6 separate regions of the Homo sapiens genome follow, and regions 2, 3, 4, 5 and 6 are each linked to region 1. Evidence: promoter capture Hi-C in 16 types of primary human blood cells and fetal thymus (Javierre and others, 2016). All regions are on one chromosome and are shown on one strand. Each heading gives the region's core, a stretch centred on a gene start or on the middle of the fragment in contact. The rest is flanking DNA. Distances are from core to core; before and after follow the strand shown. Region 1 holds the start of MON1B (MON1 vesicular trafficking associated B). Region 2 holds the start of GAN (gigaxonin). Region 3 has its middle 2.8 kb from the start of GCSH. Region 4 has its middle 2.3 kb from the start of C16orf46. Region 5 overlaps CMC2 (C-X9-C motif containing 2). Region 6 overlaps DYNLRB2 (dynein light chain roadblock-type 2).

What was found. The method cuts DNA at HindIII sites, captures the fragments that hold promoters and counts their contacts. A CHiCAGO score of 5 or more calls a contact.
Region 2: a contact is called between the fragment with the promoter of GAN here and the fragment with the promoter of MON1B in region 1, in 1 of 17 cell types (total CD4 T cells). The highest score is 5.1, in total CD4 T cells.
Region 3: a fragment that was not itself captured here is called in contact with the fragment with the promoter of MON1B in region 1 in 1 of 17 cell types (non-activated CD4 T cells); the score reaches 8.2 in non-activated CD4 T cells.
Region 4: a fragment that was not itself captured here is called in contact with the fragment with the promoter of MON1B in region 1 in 3 of 17 cell types (non-activated CD4 T cells, naive CD8 T cells and activated CD4 T cells); the score reaches 8.1 in non-activated CD4 T cells.
Region 5: a contact is called between a fragment that was not itself captured here and the fragment with the promoter of MON1B in region 1, in 2 of 17 cell types (neutrophils and naive CD8 T cells). The highest score is 5.8, in neutrophils.
Region 6: a contact is called between a fragment that was not itself captured here and the fragment with the promoter of MON1B in region 1, in 1 of 17 cell types (naive CD8 T cells). The highest score is 5.7, in naive CD8 T cells.

The regions. Positions count from the first base shown.
Region 1 is chr16:77,188,756-77,193,225 of GRCh38, reverse strand. MON1B (MON1 vesicular trafficking associated B) reads right to left here and starts at 2,036. Exons shown (of 6, transcript NM_014940.4): 1 at 1,968-2,036; 2 at 1,593-1,750. The coding sequence starts at 1,740. It overlaps LOC124903725, which reads left to right and starts at 2,660. Exons shown (of 1, transcript XM_047435021.1): 1 at 2,660-3,318. The coding sequence starts at 2,660. The coding sequence ends at 3,004. RefSeq lists enhancers at 1,885-1,934, 1,955-2,244, 1,370-2,318. The HindIII fragment of the contact is 24,724 bases long and covers 1-4,470 here.
Region 2 is chr16:81,312,241-81,316,710 of GRCh38, reverse strand. It overlaps GAN (gigaxonin), which reads right to left and starts at 1,749. Exons shown (of 11, transcript NM_022041.4): 1 at 1,431-1,749. The coding sequence starts at 1,597. RefSeq lists silencers at 873-1,142, 1,163-1,222, 1,363-1,702 and an enhancer at 1,713-1,912. The HindIII fragment of the contact is 5,241 bases long and covers 657-4,470 here.
Region 3 is chr16:81,096,981-81,101,450 of GRCh38, reverse strand. It overlaps the pseudogene PKD1L2. Among named protein-coding and RNA genes, the nearest start is that of GCSH, 2.8 kb to the right of the region's middle. The HindIII fragment of the contact is 2,961 bases long and covers 1,240-4,200 here.
Region 4 is chr16:81,077,306-81,081,775 of GRCh38, reverse strand. No RefSeq gene overlaps it. Among named protein-coding and RNA genes, the nearest start is that of C16orf46, 2.3 kb to the right of the region's middle. RefSeq lists enhancers at 3,456-4,114, 4,227-4,276, 4,115-4,470. The HindIII fragment of the contact is 2,067 bases long and covers 1,511-3,577 here.
Region 5 is chr16:80,998,888-81,003,357 of GRCh38, reverse strand. The region is part of intron 1 of CMC2 (C-X9-C motif containing 2); the gene reads left to right. Among named protein-coding and RNA genes, the nearest start is that of CMC2, 5.8 kb to the left of the region's middle. RefSeq lists an enhancer at 3,998-4,470. The HindIII fragment of the contact is 2,873 bases long and covers 794-3,666 here.
Region 6 is chr16:80,541,090-80,545,559 of GRCh38, reverse strand. DYNLRB2 (dynein light chain roadblock-type 2) reads right to left here. Exons shown (of 4, transcript NM_130897.3): 2 at 2,209-2,284. The region is part of intron 1 of DYNLRB2-AS1 (DYNLRB2 antisense RNA 1); the gene reads left to right. Among named protein-coding and RNA genes, the nearest start is that of DYNLRB2, 2.3 kb to the right of the region's middle. RefSeq lists an enhancer at 4,427-4,470. The HindIII fragment of the contact is 1,358 bases long and covers 1,943-3,300 here.

The sequences.
Region 1 (4,470 bases), core at 787-3,286:
AACATATTCTCATTGTTATTCCACTGGACTTGCTATGTTCCTACAGACCAATTACTTCCCTTTCAATCACTGTTATTCCAAAGTCTTCAAAGCACCCCATTGACTCTGGATGACGATTATTCATCTTCAATGATCCCCCATTAACTCCTCTGACCGCTATTTTTTCTCCTGATATCTGCTCACCCAATGGCCACCATTAACATCTATTAATATCTTAACTGTTTGAATGCCCCAACCCCCGCTACTACCCTATCAGTGATGCCCACTGATACCTGATGACCCCTACTAACTCTCCTGGTTGCCCATTTATATTCTTGGTAATGTCCACTATTTCTCCCAATGACTGTCGTTAATATCCACTAACACCCAGATATTTAGGACTCCCCTAATCCACTATTCACTCCCACTGTGGTTCACAAACACCCCAATGACCCCACATTAACAATCATTAACACCTGGTTTTTCAATGACCCTCCATGACTGCCCTGATCCACAAGTTATTCTACTCCATGTCTACTCCCCCCTACCCCCAACAATGACCATCATTAACCTCCACTAACACCCAGCACTTCAGAGACCTTCAGTCACTCCCCTGACCACCTTCAATCTCATTGGTATCCACTCCCCTCCCTACAGTAACCATCATAATATCCACTAACACACAAGACTTTAATGACTTCCATTGCCCCTACCCATGACCATCATTAACATTCACTAAAACCCACAACTTCAACAGCCCCTACTGACACATCCATTTATTCCCATTGATTTCCATTCATCCCCCAATGACAACCATTATTATCCATGTGCAACTATGTCTCAATAATTTTCCCATAAAATCCCAATAATTGCATATTCTGTCACTGACATTCACTGACACTCCCATGTCCCCAAATATCTTTACTCCCTCCTAATAACTGCTCTTACCTGCTATTAATTCCCAAGTCCTCAACCTCCCCATCCACATTTATTCTCAGTGAGGTCCACTGATCCTTCCCAATGACTCCATTTACATCCACTAATTCCAAAGTGATCAATGGCACAGACTTCTCAGTGACTTCCATTAAATCTCAAATGAACAACTTTACACATCCACTAACATTTGGTCCCTTAAAGACTTCCCCAACAGTCTACAAGTGACTTCAATGATGTAAATACTCTGAGTGCCCATCGAACTCCACTGATTCCCCTTCCCACTTCTATTATTTAATAAATAACACCCTACTCCTCAAAAACACTAACTTCTCAACAGTCCTCCTCTGTTGAGTCTATTGACTTTCTTCAGCGCATTCTTTGATCTAAACACTCTAAATCCTCAGTGACCCTCTTTGGTCCTAACAGCCCCCTTTTTGATTCCTCAATGACCTAAACTCACACCAAACCCCCAGTGAACATCCGTTGACAGCCAATGACTTCCTCAATGATGTAAACTACACCATGTGTCCACAGTGACCTCCTCCTGACCCGGCGATGGTTTAAGCCACTTCTCTTAAGTCCCAAGACTCCCTACTGGTCACCCACTGACCCTTCCCCCGTCCAACAATGACAACCCCTAAGGATTCCTTTTAAGACCCCACTAAGTGGAGTCATACCTGTTTCCTCCAGGCCCTCGTCTTCGGGATCCGGCGGGACCGCGTGAACCCCTCCACCTTCTCTAGCTTCCTCACTGGGGAACTGCGTGTCCTCCAAGTCCTCCGCGCCCCCGGGGGCCGGGGCAGCAGTGTCTCCTCCGACCTCCATCTGCACATCCCTGAGTGGGAGGGGAATCGAGGGTGACGGGCGGTGAAAGAAACTTCTGAAAAGCCTTTATAGAGTCAGGCCCCCTTGGACACACTCCTACTGCTCATTTCCCCACGGATTTCAATAGGACGAGACATCCAAAATCATGCCCAAATACGTCCCCCCTCCAACACTTTCCGAAAAGAGGAGACTCTACTGGGCCTCAGGAAATAGAGATATACAAACACCTGTTTTAACTCCGAATCTCAATTGGCCGGATACCATTACTTCCCCGTAGCGGCGGTGGCATCACACTTCCGGGTGCGGCCCGGGAGGTGCCACACTTCCGGGTACGACCCCTCCCAGAAGACACTTCCGGTTGCGGAGCTTTATTGGCTCCTCGCGGCGTCCCTCTCCCGCCGCCTACGGGTGTCCCCTCATAGTTGAGATGGCGCGGGCCACTTCGGATCTACGTCAGGTCTGTTCGGGAGCGCAATGAGACCTCTCTGCACTCCTTTCAACGGATCTGGCTACGGCTGCTAACCCGGGAGAGCGAGGCCCACTTCGCTTACCAGTGGTTGGCGTGAGGGGGGACGCGGCTCGCTCTAGCCAATCCCGGAGTACATAGGGCGCGACCGTCTTCTTTCTGGGCCAATCGAGATGAGCCGCCTCATTTCCCCGCTGTCTACTCCCCCCGCCAAATCCTAACCAATACTGTGCGTTGTGTTGCGTTTGCACACGCCCATCCATTGATTGACGTCTCCCTCGACCCAATCGAAGACTCGAGCCTATTCCTTGTTTCACAAGAGGACTTTTGCAGCGTCAGTCCCGATGGATACCTGTGCCGGACCCACAAACGGGCTCTCCCAGAACTGAGGCAACTCCACTTTCTCTTATCCCTTAACCCTGCCAAGAAAGTCAAGGGAGGGGAGAGGCGCGAATGCTTGACGGGCAGTCGCCGCTTCTAATCAGCGTGCCGCGCCAGCAGCTCCGTACCCTGCCGGGTTCCCACGTCTACCTGCAGCTGGGGGAAGAACTCTGCCAGCCCAGGGCAGGGGCGGGCACTCACTTGGACCAGGACCTGCCCGACGCCCCCGGTCCGCCGGGCGAACGGGTCGTCACTTTCTGTGATCAGTTTGGGAAAAGGCTTGGGGGCCCTGCCACGGGCCAGTGTGGGAACCCAGGGTTCGAATTCCCGCCCCGACGCTGCTTCCGGACCGAAAGCCCCCTGAACGCCTTGCCCCAAGTGCCCTGGGCCTTGGTTTCTCCATCAGTGAAACAATGATGGGAATCGCTTGACGTGAAGTGAGTGGAGGTGCTGGCACACTTCGAGTGATTGCTAAGGGGAAGCCTTTGGTACTAGTTAGGATAATTATTTTAATTACAGTATAGTTAGGGTAATGAATTCCAAATACCAGTGTAGCATCATGTGCTTTATATACAATAGGTAATCGATAAGTAATAAATATTAAATTTATATAACAGAAACAATGGATAAATTTATGTGCATACAAAATATATTTACCTAATACATTTAGAAGTATATAATATATAATAAACATGTAAAAAAGTACAATAAAATAACATCTCATAAGCAAACTTATTTATTAATCTCGCTGTGTTACCCAGGCTGGAGTGCAATGGCAAAATGTTATTGACTCATTGCAGCCTCCGTCTCCCGGGTTCAAGCAATTCTCCTGCCTCAGCCTCTGGAGTAGCTGGGATTACAGGTGCCCGCCACCACGTCCGGCTAATTTTTGTATTTTTAGTAGACATGGGGTTTCGCCATGTTGGCCAGGCTGGTCTTGAACTCCCGACCTCAGGTGATTCACCCGCCTCAGCTTCCCAAATTGCTGGGATTACAGGAGTGAGCCATCATGCCCAGCCCAGGGCTACACACTTTAAACAACCAGATCTCGCAATAACTCCCTCAGTCACTGTCACCAAGAGGATGATGCTAAACCATTCATGAAGGATTCACCCCCAAGATCCGATCAACTCCCACCAGACCCCACCTTCAATAATGGGGATTACCATTCGACATCAGATTTCGGTGGGAACATAGATCCAAACCTTATCAGGGGAGTAGAGGAATAGTTACGCCTTCATCTAGCTTTGTCAATCTGCATTTTTACCTCAGAGGAAGCAATCAGATATGCATTTGTTTCAGGTGAGCAGAGGGATGACTTGGGGTTCGCTCCTTTGTCTCGCACCTGTGAAGATAAACTATCAATTTACGTTGTCAGGGTAAAATTCAACAGAACCGTTTTAGGGTAAAGATCTTGCAGCCCACAAGGAATCCCTAGAGGGCAAATTATGAGGGAAGTATGTAGCTTTATCTTTGTAAATATCTTATTTAGGGATAAACTGGGAGGCAGGTTTGCCTGATGCAGTTCCCAGCTTGACTTTTACCTTTGGCTTAGTAATTTTGGAGTCCTGAGATTTATTTTCCTTTTACACCTGCCTTGTATTTCAACAAAACCATATCACAATTAGGCTCCTTTTAAAAATTCTTGCTGATGTGCTCTGTGAACTTTAAAGATTGTTTTCCAGGGAAAATGGCAGAACTAAGAACAATTGTCACACAGTCTCTTATCTGAAACCCTTAGTGCCAGATGTGTTTTAAATTCACACATTTTCCTGATTTTAGAAATGAAATTAGGTGCATGTGCCATGTATTATATAGAGCCCAGCAAGGGACTGGGAAACACCTGATAACTAAACTCATTTTTTCTGAGTGAAACTTTTTAT
Region 2 (4,470 bases), core at 500-2,999, 4.1 Mb before region 1:
TAAGCCAAACGGATGCCATTTAAAGAACTATAACAATAATGCATCTAAAGTAGTTTTCTTCAGCATTTTCCCAAACAGGGAAGACTTTGGTCTGCTGACTCCAATTTGGGATGGGTTGCTCAAACCTCGGAACTGCCAGCTAGAAGCTGTCTGTCACATTAGCAATCCAAATTCTGTACTAACGATGCTACCCCAGACCCTACTGCCGCCCCGCCCCCCCACCCCTCCACACTCCCCACCGCCAAAGAGCGCAAATGGATTCACAAAACAAATCCAAGAGAAACCAGAAGTTACAAGGGCACTTGAATTTCTTCTAAGTTTAGCACAGATATCTCCCCAATGCAAAGGTTAAAAGTGTAGCGTGCGTGGTGGTTTTGCTGGGACAAAGCGCTAAGAATACACATCATTTTGCTTTTTCTGACCTGTCAATTGTAGTGATATTCTCTACCACTAGCTTATATTTAACCAGCTTACTGGTCAGTTTCTCCAGTTTTTAGCATTCCCCCCTTTCCTTTTATTAAAACAGCAACCTAGTTTGCAAGAAGGTTGCTAAAAGAAAAGATAGTCTCCTGCAAGATCTGATACACTTGTATAAGCACTGTCTTATCAACCTTTTAATTAACCTGGTTAGTTGAGTTGGCAAATCAGGTTAAGCTTTGCTTTACTAAAGTATTAAAATGCCCTTTGTCGCAAGGCTCTCACGGTCCTCGGGTTGTAACAGCATCCTGAGAATTCGCTACAGTTTACTTCAACGTGTAACTCCTCTTTTAAACAGTTACCAGAATGGAGCGGAAAAGACACGTTTGGCAAGGAGAATTTCGCCCGGAGGTTCGGACTACCAACCCAAGGAGAACATCGAGAGGGTTTTCTCTGCCTGCACCCAGCGAGGCGCTGTCTGTCTGGCCTCCCAGCGGGCAGGGCGCTCCCCGCCTGGTTGGCGGCGCCGGCCCAGCCCCCGCGCGTGGATTCAGAGGCGAGCGACTGGCGAACTTCAGCGGGGACCGCGGGCCCGGCCTGGGCGAGGGGGTGACTCTTCCCCGGCGCGGCCTCGCCCAGCCCGCAGGTGCGGGTCCCGGCCGGCCCAGGACGGCGTCTGGGGGCCTCAGGGTCTCCGAGGTCGGGCGCTCGCCGCGGCGGTGGGAACCGGGAGGGACAAGGCGGGGGATCGCGGCCCGGGTCCGGGGACAACTCCAAGGGGCGCGGGGGTCCAGTGGGGAGCGCGGGCCTGGAAGCCACAGAGGCCGCCTGGGGGACGCGGTCAGCGGGGCCGGGTTCCGGCGCTTGCCGGGAGGGACGCCGCGCCAACGGTGACGCGGGGACCCCGGCGCCGGGGACAGGGGACAGGGTCTGGGGGCCACGCCCGGCCCGGCCGCCCCGCCTCCGGCTCCGGGCAGCACCGCCGCGCCCGCCCGCCGTAGCCCCCTCCCCACCTGATGTACGGGCTGGCCGCCGCCAGGATGTTCTTCTGCACCGGGATCTCCTCCCCGTCGAGGACCAGGTGCGCGTCGCAGAAGCGAGACTCCTCGCGGAAAGAGCTGAGCGCTCGCAGCAGACGCGCGGCGTGCTGAGGGTCAGACACGGCACTGCCCTCAGCCATCGCGGCGCCCGCTCCTCTGCCGACGGGTCCGGCTCCCGACACCGTCCGGCCGGACCCCTCGAGCGGCCCGAGTCCTGCGCGCGCGCCCGCCCGGCCCGGCTCTCCGCGCTCTGAGCAGAAGCTGGAGCCCCCGGGACGTGCCTGTGCTATCCGCGGCGCGCTGGGCCGGCGCCTTTAAGAAGCCGCGTCATGAAGTCATTTCTCCGCGACGCCCCCGCACCGTCGCTCCCCGCCTTCTCGCCTCCGCTGCTGGAGATGGCCAATCAGAAGCCTCCTTCCTCCGCCCGCCTGACCAGCTGCGGCTGGGTGCAGCGGAAGGTGTCTACGGATGAGATAGGTCGCTCCCGCGATGGAGGGATGTGCGGGCGGGCTAGGATTCCGTGGTTAAGCCTGTGGCCTCTGGAGCCGCGAGTTTGAATCCTGGTTGCAGCTGTTCCACTTACTAGCTCTGTGGCCATGGGTAAGGTGCCCATCCTCAGTTTCTCCGTCTGCAAAATGAAAGCGAATTCTTAGTGTTGTTGTGGACTCATGAGATGATGCATGGAAGCAAGGGCGAAGTCGCTGTAGCTTTCTTTATTTATGAGAGAAAAGGAGCTGCCCAGGTGAGAGGACAAAAACCCGAGAAAACAGACCCGGAAAAGATGGTTTTGGTTGCGGGCTAGGAAGGAGATGTAGCAGATGAAGCTGGAGAAGTCCGAAGGAGGCCTTAAATTTTGCAGGGCCTCCTTGGTGTGGGAAGGAGTTTGGTTTCTGCAGTGGTGAAGAACCATGGAAGTACCGTATTTAGCAGGGGATTTTGTGCAGGTCACTCAGCTCCTGCGTGGAGAATAAGGCGGGGATGGATGTGCTAAAGGCAGATCGATGCTTAGGTATTGCAGGACTAGAGAGAAGGGAATGGGCACCTGGATGAAAGGGTGATGCGGGGGCGGGGGTAGACAATAGTGGATTGTTTTAAAAGAAATTGTGAGGGAGAGGGAGTTAAGGATAAATATTCTGTTTGAGTAACTGCATGCATGTTTGCACCTTTCAGGGAGAGCTAGGAAATGCTGAAGGGGTGGGCAGTAGAGAGGCAGATGTTTAGATTCAGACAGGCTCCCAACCCAGTGAAGATCAAAGCTGTGATAGAAAGGATCGCTGGGTCAGCTCAGCTGGCAGGCCAAGCCCCACGGTATCTGAAGTTTCCCTGGAGGTTGCTCAGGGCACATGGGAGTGTGGAATGTAGCAACCATTTTGTGCAAACGTTAGGGACTCCATAAGCCTCTAAAAAATTAGCAATTGTATGAGGACTCCGGACCAGAAGAATGTGGCTAGCATTCCAGGCAAGACAGGATGGAATTTTCACTGTCCTTCAACCAACTGAAAGGCTCCAATAAAGTCTTGGGTATTTACCCTGAACCAGCCAAGGCTTTGGAGTCACTGGCAGGAATCCGAGTATCTAACTGTTTTCAGGGCAGAATAGATGGGGAGGGTACGGCTGTGGAAGACACATGCATTTCCACTTTCTTCTGTAAATGCAGCTCAGTGTTCCCGGATGCAATGATAAAGATGTCTAGGATTTGCTTCAAAACAAAACAAAGGGATGGGGAAGCAGATGGGAGTGTAGATGAGTCAAAAGTGGCCGCAAGTTACTAATTGTTAAAGCCACGTAATGGGGATGTGGAGATTCGTTGTACTGTCTCTATATTGTTGTGGATGTTTAATGGGGATGTGGAGATTCATTGTACTGTTTCTATATTTTTGTGGATGTTGAAAAATATTTTCTTCTTTCTTTTTTTTTTTTGAGATGGAGTCTCCCTCTATTGCCCAGGCTGGAGTGCAGTTGTGCAATCTCTGTTCACTGCAACCTCCGCCTCCCGGGTTCAAGTGGTTCTCCTGCCTCAGCCTCCCAAGTAGCTGGGACTACAGGCATGTGCCACCATGCCTGGCTAACTTTTGCATCTTTAGTAGAGATGGGGTTTTACCATGTTGGCCAGGCTGGTATCGAACTCCTGACCTTGTGATCCGCCCACCTTGGCTTCCCAAAGTACTGGAATTACAGGCATAAGCCACCACACCCGGCCGAAAAATATATTTAAAAAGGTAAGAAACACACAAGACAAGCAGCTTGGACTTATCTTCTCCATGATACCTACCCAGTATCCCTGTGAGCAGCTGACATTCCTTTCTCCAAGCAGTTGCTGTATTTTGAACATTGCTCGAGCAAGAAACTTTTTATAATGGGTTTATTTATCCATGTCACCTGCTATACTATGTTTATTGTAGCTCAGCATGATTTCCAGGTACCAAGCACAGTACTTGGTGCGTAATAGTGCTAACTGAATGTTGGATGGATGGAGGGATTAAAAAAAAGAAAAACACCTGAATATCAGACACTTAATAAATGTTTCTTGGGAGGCCGAGATGGGCGGATCACGAGGTCAGAAGTTCGAGACCAGCCTGGCCAACATGGTAAAACGCCGTCTCTACTAAAAATACAAAAATTAGCTAGGTGTGGTGGCAGGCACCTGTAATCCCCACTGCTCAGGAGGCTGAGGCAGGAGAATCACTTGAGCCCGGGAGGCAGAGGTTGCAGTGAGCCGAGATCACGCCATTGCACTCCAGCCTGGGTGACAGAGCAAGACTCTGTCTCAAAAAAAATAAAAAATAAAATAAATAAATGTTTTCTGAACTGTATTCTCTATCTGTTCTTAGTTAATTTGTGTTTGCCATTTTTAAAGTCAAAAACCAGGGAGAGTTCTCTACACAATGTAAATATTTGATAAGTACTTATTAATTGCTTATTGTGCTAGTCTATTCTTTAAATATCAGAGGTTCCAAAACAAAGAGCTCCAATAGTAGGATCACAGTCAGGTAACCAATTATCCGAGTAGGAA
Region 3 (4,470 bases), core at 1,471-3,970, 3.9 Mb before region 1:
CCAAGATTGTGCGACTGCACTCCAGCCTGGGCGACACAGTGAGACTCCATCTCAAACAATAAAATAAAATAAAATAAATAAAAATAAAAACTATGACTTCCCCTTAGAAAGAAAAGCCCCCAAAGAAGATGGTTCTATGGGCATTGCCTGGTTCTTTCTCTTGCAGCTGTCGGAGGAAGGGGAGATCGTAGATTTGCTGCTGATGAAAATACTCAGTTTCCTGGGCATTAAGTCTAAGAGAGAGGAGCCTGGAAGCAGCAGGGAGCAGCCTGGGTCTCTGTCCCAGACTCGCCACTCTCGACCAGCACAAGCTTTGCCCAAGGACTAAGCTGTTCGTCCACACGCCACCATCTACCAGTGGGGACGCCCAGGGCCTCGGGCGTACGCTTACCAGCGACTCTATAGTCTCTCTAGGTCATAGCTTTCATGTCCATTGAAGAATTACCAAGCCCAGCAAGTAAAAAAAATTACAATAACAGAGATATATGTAAAATTGCCAATACTATGAGAGCTTCTTTGTTCAAATGTATTTCCTCTTATTATAAATAAAACAAATATTACATGGAGTTTGGAAAATTTCCTGCACAGACTAATTATTTCGTCTTTTTAGTCCGTTGGGGGTTGCTTTTGAATGATTCTAGTTCAGGGCTTCTCAAACTGTCTGAGAGATGCTAATGGATGCTGTATTAGTTTCCCAGAACAATGTATCACAAACGAAGTGGCTTAAAACGACAGAAATGCATTCTGTCCCAGCTCTGGAGCCTGGAAGTGTGCAATCAAGATGTTGGCAGTGGCCGGGCATGGTGGCTCACGCCTGTAATCCCAGCACTTTGGGAGGCCGAGGCGTGCGGATCACTTGAGGCCAGGAGTTCGAGACCAGCCTGGCCAACAGGGTGAAACCCTGTCTCTACTAAAAATACAAAAATTAACCAGGTGTGGTGGCGGGCGCCTGTAGTCCCAGCTACTCAGGAGGCTGAGGCAGGAGAATCCCTTGAACCCGGGAGGCGGAGGTTGCAGTGAGCCTAGGTGGTGCCACTGTACTCCAGCCCGGGCGACAGAGCATGACTCCGTCTCACAAAAAAAAAAAAGAAAAGAAAGAAAAAAGATGTTGGCAGTGCCATGCTCCCTCTGAGGGCTCTAGGGAAGAATCCTTCTTGCCTCTTCCAGCTTTTGGTGTTGGCCAGCCAGCCTTGGTGTCCCTTGGCTTCTAGATGTGTCACTCCCAGATGGGAAGAAGCTTGCTGGGAGCCTGTGTTCCTTCTCCTTTTCTCAGCACACCAGCCATATTGAATTAGGGGCCCACCCTAGTCCAGGGTGACCTCATCTGAACTAATTATAATACATCTGCAGGGATCCTGTTTCCCAATATGGTCACATCTGAAGAACTGGGACTTAGGACTTTGACATACCTCTTTAGGAGCCACAATTCAAACCAGAACAGGTGTCATTCCTCCAAAAATGTTTCTGGGTCAAATAAATATGGGGAATACTGGTTTATAAAAGTTTTTTTGTTTGTTTGTTTGTTTGTTTGAGACAGGGTCTTGCTCTGTTGCCCAGGCTGGAATGCAGTGGCATGATTTCAGCTCACTGAAACCTCTGCCTCCCAAGATCAAATGATTCTTGTGTCTCAGGCTTCCCAGTATCTGGGACTACAGGCACACAAGAGCATGCCTGGGTAATTTTTGTATTTTTTTGTAGAGACGGGGTTTCACCATGTTGGCCAGGCTGGTCTTGAACTCCTGGCCTCAAGTGATCTGCCTACCTAGGCCTCCCACAGTGCTGGGATTACAGGCATGAGCCACCGCACCCAGTCTACTGTATTGTTATAAGAGGAAAATATGTCTATCAGCTCAAAGAGATGAATGGGCCCCTCTCAAAACACCTGGAAGAAATGACCACCTGGAATTTTCCAGAGCTTATACTCAATGGGCAACGAGATGACCTTTAAAATCTCAAACCAGGAGGTTACAAAGATTACTAGGTAGAAAAAGAAAAAAAATTTTGACTGTCTTCAATGCTTTTTACCAAAAGAAAAACACATGTCATATTTTTTGGTGGAAGGGCCTTTTTGTAGCCCATATGTTGATGTTGATGTGTGATCTTTTTCTTCCCATCACATGAGTTAGTGAAGCTGAGAATAAATATGTTAGGGTGTAAGTGGCACGATGCTGCACTGTCTTGTAATGAAACAACAATAGAAAACAACATCTTGACATTAGAGAAGGTAGCCAAGATCTGTAGTGCAGGGTAGACCAGCGTGATCCAGTCAGCATCCCAAACGAAAGCAAGCGGAGCAGAGCTTAAGAGCAATTGCTGGCCAGGCACGGTGGTTCATGCCTGTAATCCCAGCACTTTGGAAGGCCGAGGTGGGTGGATTACAAGGTCAGGAGTTCGAGACCAGCTTGGCCAACATAGTGAAACCCCATCTCTACTAAACATACAAAAATTAGACGGGCGTGGTGGCACGTGGTCCTGTAGTCCCAGCCACTCGGGAGGCTGAAGCAGGAGAATTGCTTGAACCCGGGAGGCAGAGGTTGCAGTGAGCCAAGATCACGCCACTGCGCTCCAGCTTGGGCGACAGAGCTAGACTTCGTCTCGAAAAAAAAAAAGAAAAAAAGAAGAGTTGCTTTCTAATCAGTGTAGAGGCCAAGGTCTACTACTGCCACCTAGGAGCTACTTAAGCCACAAAAACGCCTCCCCGATCCCACTCCTCGGAAGTGCCTTCACCTCTGAGCCTCATCTATGAAATGAGTGTAACACCTGCCAGAAAGAGGTTTGGAGAGGATTAAAAAGATGTGTGCATAGTGCCAGGCACATAGCAAAGGCTCAATAGATGGGAATGATTTGCTCAAAAGAAAGTGGGCATGACGGCCCTTGCAAGCCACTGCACAGATGTGGTGGCAACCCTAAGTTCATAGCAGGGCAGAAGCTCAGTGCAACAACGTATGGGCTCCCCAAACACACACACACTCCATGGTGTGCACCCTATGGTACTGTTTCCGGTGTTTGAACAAGAACAACTCCATTTTGAATATGGGCTGGGTAAAATGAGGCTGAGACTTGGTGGGCTGCATTCCCAGGAGGTTAGGCATTCTTTTTATTTGTATTTTTTTCTGAAGCAGAGTCTCGCTCTGTCACCCAGGCTGGAGTGCAGTGGCGTGATCTCGACTCACTGCAACCTCTGCCTCCCAGGCTCAAGTGATTCTCGTGCCTCAGCCTCCTGAGTAGCTGGGATTACAGGCACCTGCCACCATGCCTGGCTAAACTTTGGATTTGTAGTAGAGACGGGGGTTTCTCCATGTTGGCCAGGTTGGTCTCGAACTCCTGACCTCAAGTGATTCACCTGCCTCACTTAGTCACAGGATGAGCTAGGGTTGGCACAAGATACAGGTCACAAAGTCCCTGCTGATAAAATAGGATGCGGTAAAGGAGCTGGCCAAAACTCACCAAAACCAAGATGGCGACCTCTGGTAGGTCTCACTGCTCATTATACGCTAATTATAATGCATTAGCATGTTAAAAAAAAAACAACTCCCACCAGCGTCATGACAGTTCACAAATGCAATGGCAACGTCCAGAGAAGTTACCCTATAGTCCAAAAAGCGGAGGAACCGTTAGTTCTAGGAAATCCCTGCCCCTTTTCTGGAGAACTCTTGAATGATCCACCCCTTGTTTAGCATACAATCAAGAAATAACTATAAGTACACTTAGTCGAGAAGCCATACTGCTGCTCTGTCTACGAAGAAGCCATTCTTTTTTTTCTTTACTTCTCTATTAAACGTGCTTTCACTTTATAGACTCTCCCCAAATTCTTTCTTGCATGAGGTCCAAAAACCCTCTCTTGGGGTCTGGATTGGGAGCCCTTTCTGTAACAGTACTAAAGGTGTGTGTGTAGCTTAAGGTGTTTTTCAGAACAGTATTTCTTTGCTGACTCATGGCCACTCCATAAAATCTGTGTTAAAGGTGAGGTTTTTCCCAGAACCTAATTTTTTTCTGACTTCTTGGATTGGGATGATGACTTCGGCTTTTCTCGGAAGGCCTTGGTCACACCGCTGGCCGATGAAACAAGGAATTGTGCACACTGGGTCTCAGCTCTCTGCGTTTTGAATATTTCTGCATTAGTGACTGGCTTGGGTCCAGTCTCCACCAAGAAGCCACTTATGACCCTTGGACAAGTCTTTATTCCTTTTTAAGTAAGCTTCTGGATTCTGCCGGTCCTGTTTGGGGTCCCTGGGGCTCTTTGAGACAGGAACGTTACAGAGCAGTTGAAGGAGAATAGAAACTTCCAGGCTGCAGTTCTGTCTAACAAAAGGAAACTGTTGAAATAGCTGCACAAGCTATGGGCTAAGACCCTGAAAAACCAGGGTGTGGGTCAACCTGGCTAAAACCAACTGGACCCAACGTGGTGTGGCTTTGACCTAGGCTTCACCTAGGACTCATTAACATACTAAGTCACACACCCACCGGCAC
Region 4 (4,470 bases), core at 1,295-3,794, 3.9 Mb before region 1:
GAGGAGATAAACTCCTGTATCATTTTCTCAGTTACTAGAGGAAAAGAGAAGTATTCATATAGTACCACCTTCTGGTGGTGAATAAACAGCAAAAATAAGGACTTAGCAAAAGTAGGTAGGTAAATAACATACAAATCTTTCCTGCTCCTCAGCTGAAGAAACTTCATTCCAAGCCTCTGCCAGTAGCCATATCACTGCTGAACTATATCTTTGTACCCTTAAATCTTAAGTATTGGCCAGGTGTGGTGGCTCACGCCTGTAATCCTACCACTTTGGGAGGCTAAGGTGGGTGGATCTCTTGAGCCCAGGAGTTTGAGACCAGCCTGGGCAACATGGTGAAACCCCGTCTCTACAAAAATATAAAAATTAGCCTGGCATGGTGGCATGTGCCTCTGGTCCCAGCTATTTGGGAGTCAGGTAGAATCACTTTGTGTCTGGGAGGTCAAGGCTGCAGTGAGCCAAGATCACACCACTGTACTCCAGCCTGAGTGACAGTGAGAACGCATCTCAAAAAAAAAAAAGTATCCAAGGTATCCTGGATGATTGTCTATATTGCGTAATTGTCAATCATGTTAATTGATCTGTCTGCTTTGAAAATAGATGGGGATGAGTAATAATTACATAGATTTACCCTTTAGTTTTGAAAGTTCTCTAGACACATCGATTACTACCATCATTTCACAGGTATGAAAGGTGATAGGATAAGAAATTTGTTAAATAGTTGGGTGGTCGTGGTAATGATTTTCATATTTCCTGGTCTACTCTTAATCAGTCCCTTAGCAAATTTTACTATAAAAATATTTAAATGGGACAGGCGCGGTGGCTCACGCTTGTAATCCCAGCACTTTGGGAGGCCGAGGCAGGCGGATCACGAGGTCAGGAGATCGAGACCATCCTGGCTAACACGGTGAAACCCCGTCTCTACTCAAAATACAAAAAAATTAGCCGGGCATGGTGGCGGGCGCCTGTAGTCCCAGGTACTTGGGAGGCTGAGGCAGAAGAATGGCATGAACCCCACATGCGGAGCCTGCAGTGAGCCAAGATGATGCCATGCACTCCAGCCTGGGCAACAGAGCGAGACTCCGTCTCAAAAAAAAAAAAAAAAATTTTTAATGGGAATCTCAGGGAAGAGGGGGAGGTTGAATGTTCTAAATAAAGGTGGGAAGCAAAAGTGGCCATTCTAGAGTATGAAAGTCCGTGAGTGGTTATAGTCTCTGAAGAAGGTGGGCAGTTTTTTATTTTTCCCTTTTCCTGCCAAAGACACACATAACTTGCTCTGTAACAACCCCTCTTTTTTCAAAGAGCAGAACATTTGGCAACTTGCTCTTCCACTATTTAGAACACAGAGCCAAATCCACTGTCATTGATGTCACAGTGCTGCCAAAAATACAGGCTTTGAATGGCCCTCCAAATTGACTGAATCCAGGGAATTTAATTTTCATGACCTCATATTCCTTTTGAATGGTTTTGGCATTAGTAGAGCAGATTAATAGAAGTTTTGAAGAAAGCTTTCTAGTAACTAAAACTTGAGAAACTGAATAGGTTACCCTGCAAGTGTTAAATTTTTTTTCTGCTATCACCTCCCAGGTAGTTTTGTCGTTAGCTTTAGGTTTTGTTTTGTTTTTTGTTTTGTTTGAGACGGAGTCTCGCTCTTTTGCCCAGGCCCTCCACCTCCCGGATTCAGGCAATTCTCCTGCCTCAGCCTCCAGGGTAGCTGGGAATACAGGCACCCGGACCACGACCATGCCCAGCTAATTTTTGTATTTTTAGTAAAGATGGGGTTTCGACATGTTGGCCAGGCTGGTCTCAAACTCCTGACCTCAGATGATCCACCCGCCTCGGCCTCCCAAAGTGCTGGGATTACAGGTGTGAGCCACCGCGCCTGGCCAGTTTTAGGTTTTAATAAACCACTAGGGAGCTCTGCATGGGCATACTACTATGAAAATGAGGCTGGCCATTCAGATCAGTTCCTCAGCAAATCAGAATTTCTGAATTTTTTCAATTTCTTTTCTTTTTCTTTTTTTTTTTTTTTTTTTTTTTTTGAGATGGAGTCTGGCTCTGTCGCCCAGGCTGGAGTGCAGTGGCGCGATCTCGGCTCACTGCAAGCTCCGCCTCCCGGGTTCACGCCATTCTCCTGCCTCAGCCTCCCGAGTAGCTGGGACTACAGGCGCCTGCCACCTCGCCCGGCTAATTTTTTGCATTTTTAGTAGAGACGGCCTTTCACTGAGTTAGCCAGGATGGTCTCGATCTCCTGACCTCGTGATCCATCCGCCTCGGCCTCCCAAAGTGCTGGGATTACAGGCGTGAGCCACCGCGCCCAGCTGCTGAATTTTTCCAATTTCTATAGTTTTTCTGGGGCTACTAAAAAGAGCACAGTTTAAAAAATTATGCTAACTACAAGCGTGTCTTTTTTACTGTGTTCTTTCAGACCAAATCACACCTTCCTTCCCATACTTAAAGAGGTGCCTTTCTTTACACCAGGATTAAATTCCTCTTTCTTCCCTGCAACAGGCCTTTCCTGCCGCCCAGGCTGGAGTGCAATGGTGCGATCTTGGCTCACTGCAACCTCCACCTCACGGGTTCAGGTGATTCTCCCACCTCAGCCTCCTGAGTAGCTGGGATTACAGGCGTCCATCACCACACCCGGCTAATTTTTGTATTAGGGTTTTGAAATGGGGTTTCGCCATGTTGGCTGGGCTGGTCTTGAACTTCTGACCTCAAGTGATTGACCCGCCTCAGCCTCCCAAAGTGCTGGGATTACAGGTGTGAGCCACCGCACCCACCCATCTCCCTTTAATTTTAAAAAATAGATATGGGGTCTTGTGACACTTCCCAAGCTGGTCTCAAGTGATTCTCCTGCCTTAGCCTCTCCTGTGAGTAACTGGTATTACAGACGCAAGCCACCACTCCTGGCTTTTTTTCTTTAAAATACATTTTATGTGTTAGAGGAAGTTTACAGTCACAGCAAAATTGAGGAGAAGGTACAGTTCTGTACGCTTCCATTCTCCGTTTTTGCAAAGTGGGATCTTACTATAAGTAGAGTTTCTGGTATCTTGACTCAATTCCTATGTTGACTTTTTATAAACATAACTAGCCAAACCCTTGTCCCTTCATGTTTCCACTCAATCATGCTATCGGGCTTTTACCTGCTAAATGCAGGAATAGTTAGTGTGAAGGAAGTCAGGTTCTAGATCCTCCAACTTCCCCATGTACTTGCCGTTAGGTTATTTAATTAATATTCATTTAGCAAATCTTAGTTAAGACTTTTGGTATACTTCCCAGAAACTTTTTTCTAATATGCAAGGTCTTGCACTGTTTCCCAGGCTGGAGTGCAGTGACACAATCATAGCTTACTGCAACCTTCAACTCCTGGGCTCAAGGGAGCCTCCTGCCTCAGCTGGGATTCCAGGTGTGAGCCACGGTGCCCAGCTGTTTTCAATAGATCTGAAGGAAGACCAAAACAAATTGTCAACTGATAAAACATTTAAATGTTTTTGGTTAATACTTACTAGCTTGAGATACAATAAAACCCCTTTTATTTGCATCTTCCTATTTATGTGAACAAGGTACCTAAGCTTACACGTATGAAAAAAGTTGGAATAGAATTATAGCTGAATCCGTCTCATTGGAGCAATCACAGTGCTAGAGAACTTAGATACCAAAATTTTTTTTGAGACTTGAGTTTTGCTCTCCAGGCTGGAGTGCAGTGGTGCCATCACAGCTCACTGCAACCTCCGCCACCCGGGTTCGAGCCAGTCTCCTGCCTCAGTTTCCCAAATAGCTGAGATTACAGGCGCCCGCCACCACACCCGGCGAATTTTTGTATTTTTAGTAGAGACACGGTTTCGCCATGTTGACCAGGCTAGTTTCGAACTCCTGATCTCAGGTGATACACCCACCTCGGCCTCCCAAGTGCTGGGATTACAGGCGTGAGCCACCGCGCCTGGCCTAGATACCGGTTTTCTACAGCAGAAATAGTCACACTTTCTAAAGCAGAAGGGCTTTGGAGTCAGACCCGAGCTGGAGTGGGGGATGCTTTGCGATCTCTCTTCAGCAAGCTGTTGTTTTAGGGACGTGGGGCCACCTTCCTTTATTTGTATAAAAGATGCCACTGCCCACTTAAGAGCTGTGCTGCTCCGGGCCAGCAGTTCAGCGAGTGCCCGTCGGCCTGGTGCTGTCGGTCACGTAAGTGGGCTCTTTGAGGCTCACAACGCGTCCTCCCTGGACGTTCTGGGCCTGTTAAGTTTGTGTCCGTGGGAAACGCTCACGGCGGTTCCCCAGAGGGCCGAGGGAGAAAAGTGAGGACGTTTCTGGCCGCCTGGCATCTGCTAAATATCCTAGCAGGCACAAGGGCTCCCCAACGGGACTCGCCGACCCGAGAGCCCGGGTGGGCCTCAAGCCCCGCCATCTGAGACCCTCCGTCGCTGGCCCTTCCGGCGGCAGCGCCCGGAGCGGATAGGAGATGCCACG
Region 5 (4,470 bases), core at 981-3,480, 3.8 Mb before region 1:
CTAATAACGTTGATATCTTCTTATGACTTTGAAGAAATTTTAAGAATAAGAATATGGAATACGTATTTAGCGTTTCTTCAGTTTGTTAAATATATTTTGAGTTAAATTGTGTTACTAGAATAGTCTTTTAAAGGTGAGTGCTGGAAGACATCAGCACTTAATTACATGTGTTCTGAGAGAACATTGCCATTTTTACAGTTGTACCTTACATATTACACCCCAGAATACAGCAGTACATCTGTGTATGCACCAACATTTAGGCAAAGCCAAGTGACACAAAGTGGATGGAAGTGAGCATAGGTGACGGGTAGGTAGAGGGCAAGGGGAGGAAGAACATATCTAGCTAAAAATATGTGGTAGAAGAAAGAAGGGAGTGATGGGGAAAGCAAGGAATCTGTTGGATAAGGGATAAGGTGAGTGTTTAGAGCTTTAGGTTAAGTAGTAGCTTCTTACCAAGAATAGGAAAAGGAAATGAAATTAAACCATTTTATTCTTTGACATAGTCATCTAGGCTAAGAAAGTAGAAGGGCCTTATAAATATATACAATTATTATTTGTCAATTCAAAGTAAAACTAAATAATGTGAATTAGAAGGGAAGACGTTTTATTGGTACCCTACCCTGATTGACAATAGCATATGTATTTGAGGTAAACTTGTTATAGAGGGAGGAAAATATGTACCATTTTATGTACTTAGGCTTATATACATCTTTGCATCTATTAATATTGTCTCAGTCAAGTGTCTTCTCAGGTATTTGTCAATTAAAGAAATCATTTCAGTACATCATAAGCTTGTTTCTGAATTGTAAAGGCACACATTTGAGTGCCGGTTGATAGAAATGTGCAAAAATATTTTGTCAAATACATTTAGAAAATGTTAGAGACATTTTCTAGTGATTAAACCAGTGTCTGTTTTCTGTTATTGTTGTTTTTGAGATGGAGACTTGCGCTGTTACCCAAGCTGGAGGTCAGTGGTGCCATCTTGGCTCACTGCAACCTTGCCTCCCAGGTTCAAGTGATTCTCCTGCTTCGGCCTCCCAAGTAGCTGGGATTACAGGCGCCCACCAACACGCCCAGCTAATTTTTTGAATTTTTAGTAGAGATGGGGTTTCGGCATGTTGGCCAGGTTGGTCTTGAACTCTTGACTTCAGGTGATCCACCTGCCTCAGCCTCCCAAAGTGCTGGGATTACAGGTGTGAGCCACCGCATCTGGCCTATACCAGTGTATGTTTTCTTTAGGAAAAAATAAGGCAGAAACCAGAAAACTAACACTTCACATAAATGTAGGTGCAGAATATTGGTACGATATTGGATAACTTAAATTGCTGAACTGTATGAAACTTAATTTTTCTAAGGCAAAAATTGATATCATTGGAAGGATCTTGGAGTCAGTGGCAGGCAAACAAAATTTAAACTTGGCTGCATTTTCTTTTTTCGTTTCAAATGAATACTTAACTAGGTGCAATGGCTTTATTTGTGGTCTTCAGCTGTGGTGTGTGTGTGTGTGTGTGTGTGTTTAGTAGTTACTGAATAGTACAGGGACCTACTGCATTTTTATAAGTTGCAATTGAAATAGTAGCTATGCTATAATCCTTTGGAATTATTTGTTCAGACAGTTTTTTGTTTCTGTTGAGTGGGAGGTGGATGGGCAGTTTGAATTTCTCACAGGTTTTTTTTTAACAGCTTGAGGTATAATTTACATACCATAAAATTCGCATGGTGAAATGCACGTAACATAAAATTTACCATCTTAACCATTTAAATGCACAGTTCAGTGGTATCAGATACATTAATAATGTTGTGCAACCATCACCACCGTCCATCTCCATAATACTTTTTATCTTGTAAAACTGCTTGTTAAACAGTAACTCCCCATTCATCTCCTCCTGCCCTTCCACCTCCCTCTGGTAACCACCATTCCACTTTCCGTCTCTTTGATTTTGACTACTTTAGGTGCCTCGTATAAGTGGAATGTTAAAGTATTTGCCTTTTAAAAAATATATAATTTCAAATTTTATTTCAGATTTTGGATATAAGTAATGTGCAGGTTTCTTACATGGGTACATTGGATGACACTGAGGTTTGGGGTACTGTTGATCCCATCATGCAGGTAAGTGAGCATAGTACCTAATGGTTTTTCAGCCCTTACCCTCCTTCTACCGTCTATTAGTCCCCAATGTCTTTTGTTGCCATCTTTATGTCTGTGAGTATCCAGTGTTTAGCTCCCACTTATAAGTGAGAATATGCCATATTTGGCTTTCTGTTGCTGCGTTAATTCACTTAGGATAATGGCTTCCAGCTGCATCCATGTTGCTGCAAAGGACATAATTTCGTCCTTTTTTATGGCTGTTTAGTATTCCATGGTGTATATGTACATATTTTCTTTATCCAATCCATTACTGATAGACACTTAGGTTGATTCCATATCTTTGCTATTGTGAATAGAGCTACAAAGAACTTATGAGTGCATGTTTTTCTTTTTGTAAAACGGTTTATTTTCTTTTGGCTATATACCCAGTAATGGGATTGCTGGATCTAGTGGTAGCTGTTTTAAGCTCTTTGAGAACTCTCCAGACTGCTTTCCACAGTGGGTGAACTAATTGACATTCCCACAACAGTGTATAAGCATTCTCTTTTCTCACAACCTCCCCCAGCATCTGTGTTTTTTTGACTTTTTAGTAATAGCCATTCTCACTGATGTGAGGTGATATCTCATTGTGGTTTTGATTTGCATTTCTCTGATGATTAGTGATGTTGAGCATTTTTTCATGTTTTTTGGCCACTTGTATATCTTTTGAGAAGTGGCTGTTGATGTCTTTTGCCCACTTTTTTTTAAAATTTGTTTATTTGTTTTGTTTTTTCGAGACGGAGTCTCACTCTGTTACCTAGGCTGGAGTGCAGTGGCGCCATCTTGGCTCACTGCAACCTCCGCCTCCTGGGTTCAAGCGATTCTCCTTCCTCAGCCTCTCGAGTAGCTGGGACTACAGGCGCCCGCCACCACACCCGGCTAATTTTTGCATCTTTAGTAGAGATGGGGTTTCACCATATTGGCCAGGCTGGTCTCGAACTCCTGACCTTGTGATCTGCCTGCCTTGGCCTCCCAAAGCGCTGGGATTACAGGTGTGAGCTACCGTGCCCAGCCTTTTGCCCACTTTTTAATGGGATTATTTATTTTTTACTTGTTGAATTAATTTCTTTATAGATTCTGGATATTAGACCTTTGTTGGATGCATAGTTTGTGAATATTTTGTCCTATTCTGTAGGTTGTCTTTATTCTATTCATAGTTTCTTTTGCTGTTTTGAGATCTTTAATTAGGTTTCAGTTTTTGTTGTAATTGTGTTTGAGTACTTAGTCCTAATTCTCTTCCGAAGGTGAATGTCCAGAATGGTGTTTCCTGGGTTTTCTTCTAGGATTCTTATAGTTTGAGGCATTCTGTGTAAATCTGTAATCTATCTAGAGTTAATTTTTGTATATGATGAAAGGTAGGGGTCCACTTTTATTCTTCTGCATATAGCTAGCCAACTATCCCAGCACCATTTATTGAATGGGAAGTCCTTTTGCCATTGCTTATTTTTGTTGACTTTGTCAAAGATCAAAAGTGTGTGGCTTTATTTCTGGGCTGTTATGTTCCATTGGTCCATGTGTGTGTTTTTGTAGGAGAAGCTTGCTGATTTGGTTATTGTAGCCTTATAGTCTGAAGTAGGGTAATGTGATACGTTTGGTTTTTGTTCTTTTTGCTTAGGATTCTTTTGGCTATTTGAGCCCCTTTTTGGTTCCATATGAATTTTTGGATAGTTTTTTCTAATTGTGTGAAAAAATGCCATTGGTAGTTTGATAGGAGTAGTGTTGAATATGTAGATTGCTTTGGGCAATATGGCCATTTCAGTGATATTGATTCTCCCAATCCATGAGCACGGAATGTTTTTCTATTTGTTTGTGTCATCTGTGATTTCTTTCAGCAGTGTTTTGTAGTTCTTCCTGTAGAGATCTTTTACCTCCTTGGTTGGATGTATTCCTGGGTATTTTATTTTTTTGGTGGCAATTGAAAATGGGATTGTATTCTTGATTTGGCTTTCAGGTTGAACCTTATAGTGTATAGACGTGCTACTGATTTTTCTATGTTGATCTTGTATCCTGAAACTACTCAAGTCATTTGGCAGAGTCTTTAGGGTTTTCTGGGTATAGAATCATATCGTCAGTGAAGAGAGACAGTTTGACTTCTTTTCTTATTCGGATGCCTTTTATTTCTCTTGACTGATTGCTTTGGCTAGGAAATAAGTACTGTGTTGAATAGGAGTGGTGAGAGCGGGCATCCTGTTCCCTTGTTCCGGTCCTCAAGGGAAATGCTTCCATCTTTTGCCTGTTCAGTATGATGTTGGCTGTGAGTTTGTCATAGATGGCTCTTATTTTGAGGTATGTTCTTCAGTGCCTAGTTTGTTGAGGGTTTTTATCATGAAGGGATGTTGGAT
Region 6 (4,470 bases), core at 1,372-3,871, 3.4 Mb before region 1:
CAGGGTGATCACTGTAACATATCCCTACCCTTCCTTTCCTATTTATTTGAAGTGTATGTGTGCACCTGGCCATAAATAGGATTAGAACATGCCGGTGACCGCTTTGTTCTCTGCTTTTTTCATCTAATACTGTGAGTAGTTTCCCAAGACACTAAACAGTCTTCAACCTTTTAAATAGAGTAATGTTCATCAAGTAAAATTAGTTACTTTAAAAATTCCCCTACTGTTAGGATACATTTATTTACTTATTTTTTCTGTTTATTTATTTATTGCTATTATATATGATGCCTCAGTGAGTATCCTCATACCTAGATATTTTCTTCATCACTCTTTAGGATAAATTGCTAGGAGTAAAATTATAGATCAAAGGGGGTGAATATTTTTCAGACCTTTGAGGCATATCACCAGGATTACCTACTTTAGACCAAGATCTTCCAAAGAATCACATTAGATGAGTGGTTCTGGCTGTCACAGGTGAATGCACCTGTACAGGGTTGAAGAGTGTCCCCCTAGACCCCCCAAATCCCCAAATTCAAGTCCAATATAAACCTCAGAAGGTGGCCTTATTTGGAAACGGGTCTTTGCACATATAATTAGTTAAGATGAGGTCACATTGGATTCGGGTAGGCCCTAATCCAATAACTGGGGTTCTTATAATGAAACAGACAGACAGACACAAAGATGAGAATGCTACGTGATGATGGCGGCAGAGATCGGAGTGATGTGTCTATAGGCCAAGGAACACTAAAGATTGACAACTACCAGAAGCTAGGAAGAGGTAAGGAATGGTCCTCCCACAGAGTCTTCAGAGACAGCATGAGCCTTCGGACATCTTGATTTCAACTTCTAACCTCCAGAACTGGAAGAGAATACGTTTCTGTTGTTTTAAGTTAACAGGCATGTTGTAGTTTGTTACTGTAGCCAAAGGAAACTAACACACCATCTCTATGAAATCACATGGACGGCTCATCTTCGGAGCTGTGGCAGAGTGTATGCAAATACCTGGAAATAAAATCAATGCAACCAGATCCACGTACTAGGGCTGGAATGCTTCCTGGAAATATTACGCATAGTTTGTGACTTACCTGGAAGGCAGATCTTAAATCCTCTCTTCCCCCTGATTATTCAAGCTCGAAAATTTATTATGTTCTATTATCTCTCTCACTCATTTGGCCTTGAGTTGCTGGTTATAAAACAAATGTTTTAACTGTATAAATGAATTAAAAATCCTCACATTCTCATAACTATTTAATTACTATCAAGTATTGGGTATTATGCCAAGCACTCAACAATTATTGTCTCATTTAACAATGAAAACCCCCAGTAAAATAGGTTATTGTCCATTCTTAGTGGTAAGGAGTTGTAGTTCAGAATTTAAGCAGACTTTCAGTTGGTAGTTGCTTAATAAATATTTACTGATGGATTTTTCCAAGGCACTGAGTTGGTAATAGGCCAATTCCATGGTTGCACCACAAATTATGTAAAGTAGCTACTCTTATTTTAACTAATGCTCTGGAATTTCTGGCACTCCTTGCCCTTACAAATGTCTGAATTAGCAATGAAACTAGCATGAACTCTTAAGAGGTTGCCACCATAGCTGAGCGTGGAGCAATGTGCCAAAGTAAATGTGATGTGGATTCTTAACAAGGATCGTGCAGCAAGAGCAAGTTTCTGGTAAGTCTACAGATTTCATAGTTGGAAATATGTAGGGCCTTCTTATGCTATATCCACAAAGACTATATTATAAATGATATCGTTAATTCTCAAAGATTTTTAAATAAAATATGTTCAAGGAACAAGTTCCATTTAAAATAAACACTGAAATTCTGTATGGTTCATAATGTTGAAACGCAAACAACCCACCAACAATGATATTCTCCCTATCTTCTATATGATAGTTTTATTGGCACTTCTGAAATGTTGGAAGAGAATTACCAAAGCTTTAAAAAGTAAACAATGTATAGTGCTTCTTAGGAGTATATAGAGATTTTTAGACATGTCTTATTCATATTTATGCCCCCAGATCTTAGCAGAGTGTTTGGCATATAACAGATACTCAATAGATGTTTGGTAAGTGAATGCCAGAGCTAAAATATATAAATATATTTTTGATGTCAAATTCGAAGATGTTTGTCTTAAGGACTAACACGGCAAACAGGTTCCTGGTTGGCTTCTGTGTGTCAAGAAGACAGCCTGTGATATATTTACCTTCTGCATTTACAACCATAGTTCCAATAACCCCTTTATGACTCTGGATCCTCTTTAAGGTTTCCTCCACCTCTGCCTGAAAGAGACCAGGAAGATAATTAACCAAAAGGGCCCTGTGGTAACTTCAACCCTAAGGAGAATAATGTTTAGCAAGATACCTACTCTCCTATCTCCTTAACCTAAGGTGCCAGGTGTGATAATCTCAGATTTTTAAAAGACAGCTTAGAAATTGTCAAGTCCCACATAAATACCTACGTAAGACCTCCTGGATACAATCCTGATGAATCTCTTGGCTTGAACCCTTGTAGAGACAGAGAGCTTACTGCCTCACAGGAGTTCACTCCATTTTTATCTGTTTCCATTTACTAGAAAAGTATTCTTTACATTGCATGGAAATTTGTCCCAGATTATCTTTCATTCATTGACCCTGCTGTATTCAAATGAAAATTCCTTTTCTACATTACAGTGCTTTAAATATTTATAGAGCTATATCATGGCCTCCCTCTGTCTAAAAGTAGTCCTTATTGAGAAATCTTATTTTCATTAATGTGACCTAATCAGTTCGGATGATTAAATTTAAAGGATAGTCTATAAAAACAAAGTATTCCAGGATTCTAGGATTTTCTTGATAACTATAGCTTGCGTCTCAGTGCAAGCTGAATGTTCAACTATGAGTGATTATTCTGGAATCTATTATTGTGTTTTAAACTCATTCGGAATCTTATGTGTAGAGTGTATTGTATGTTTTCTTCCCCTGTAGAAAACTCAAAGACAAGAACGATCTTTTCCAAACCTGCAAATTTTTCATGACTGAGCAATCACTGGATATTTTGAATTCTGCAAATTCTCTTGATGAGGGTTTGCTATATTCTTTTTTCCTCAGTATTGCACAGGTGAACATTTTGTTACTTCAAGATAGTTTTCCTTTGTACTTGGTATGGGCAGGAGCACTTATTTTCTCTATTTCAGCATCAGAGCCAAGGTTTTCTTGACTTTAGGCATTTGTGTACTAGATTCATGATTCTTGCCATTATGAATGCCATGTATACTATTTATCTAGGTGTTCTTTAAATTATCTCACTGCTAAAAGCTTAAATAAATGCATTTTAAGAGGAAATCGTATGTCACTACCACAAATGGAAACCTGACGTTATTCCTCATAAATAGAAATAACTGTAAAACAAACAAAATGAACAAAATGAAGAGAGAGCCTATCATTAAATTCTACTGCAATGAAAGCTCTGAGCCTGAGGCCTGCTCTTCGGATGAAAAAATGGAAATTTCCAAATGACAGTGGTATTAAGGACCTAATAGCAACAGAAATTTTCTCCTGTATGTAGTCTGAAGGTTGAACAAAATGGAAGAGGAATAACTTTCTCACGATGTGATTCACTCTTATTTAGCATTTCTCGGCCATCTTATGTAGCAACGAATGTTTGCATCTGACTTTGAGAAACACTACACTAAACCGTAAGCGTTGAACAGGGGATCAATAATTCACTGCATTTTGGGCAATCTTTAAGACGATGTCCACAGCTTCTTACAGCCACTGTGTCCTTATTTATCTTTCTCCCTTTACTTATCTCCCAAACTCCTTTCTTTTCTTTCCCTGGCCTTTCCATTTCTCCACCCAGTTGTTTCTCTTCTCATGATTTGTAAGTGCTCCTAGTATAATTTCTTAATCCCCATCTCCAATCCCCGTTTCATTCTTCTCTTAACGCCCTTTGCTTTCCACAGTCTCTACTTTTTTTTTTCTTACCTCTTTTTCTGGGGGGGAGGGGGGCGGGTCTCCCATCACTTCTTTCCTTTTTCTTTATTTCCCTTTCTTCTTTCTCAGTATCTTCCCTTCTCACCCTTCCATTCCCTTGCTTTCCCTGTCCCACCTCTTCCTTCTCTCTAAGGGTCTGATTTTTTTTCCTCTCCATCTCGGCCTCCCGCCCCCTCTTTGGAAACTTTCCTGGCTCCCCGGATTTCTCACTCCCCTGAGCATTCTTCATCCTCTGAATCTCTCTCTTCCCTTTCTCAACATCACCCCTCCTTATGTACCATCCCCGCGAAATCAATTCCCAAAACAGCTTCCAGTCATCTAGACATCTTCTTGCCCCTTTCCAAGGTCTCCCTCTCGCCCCTCCAGGAAGATCCTGGAGCCACCAGCCTCCGCCGCGGCCCCTGGACCGCCCGTGCCTGGGTGGGCCCCAGAAGCTGGGTGCGAAGGTCCTTGACGGTCGGCGTGCTTGGAACGGCGGGGCGTGGACGGAGACC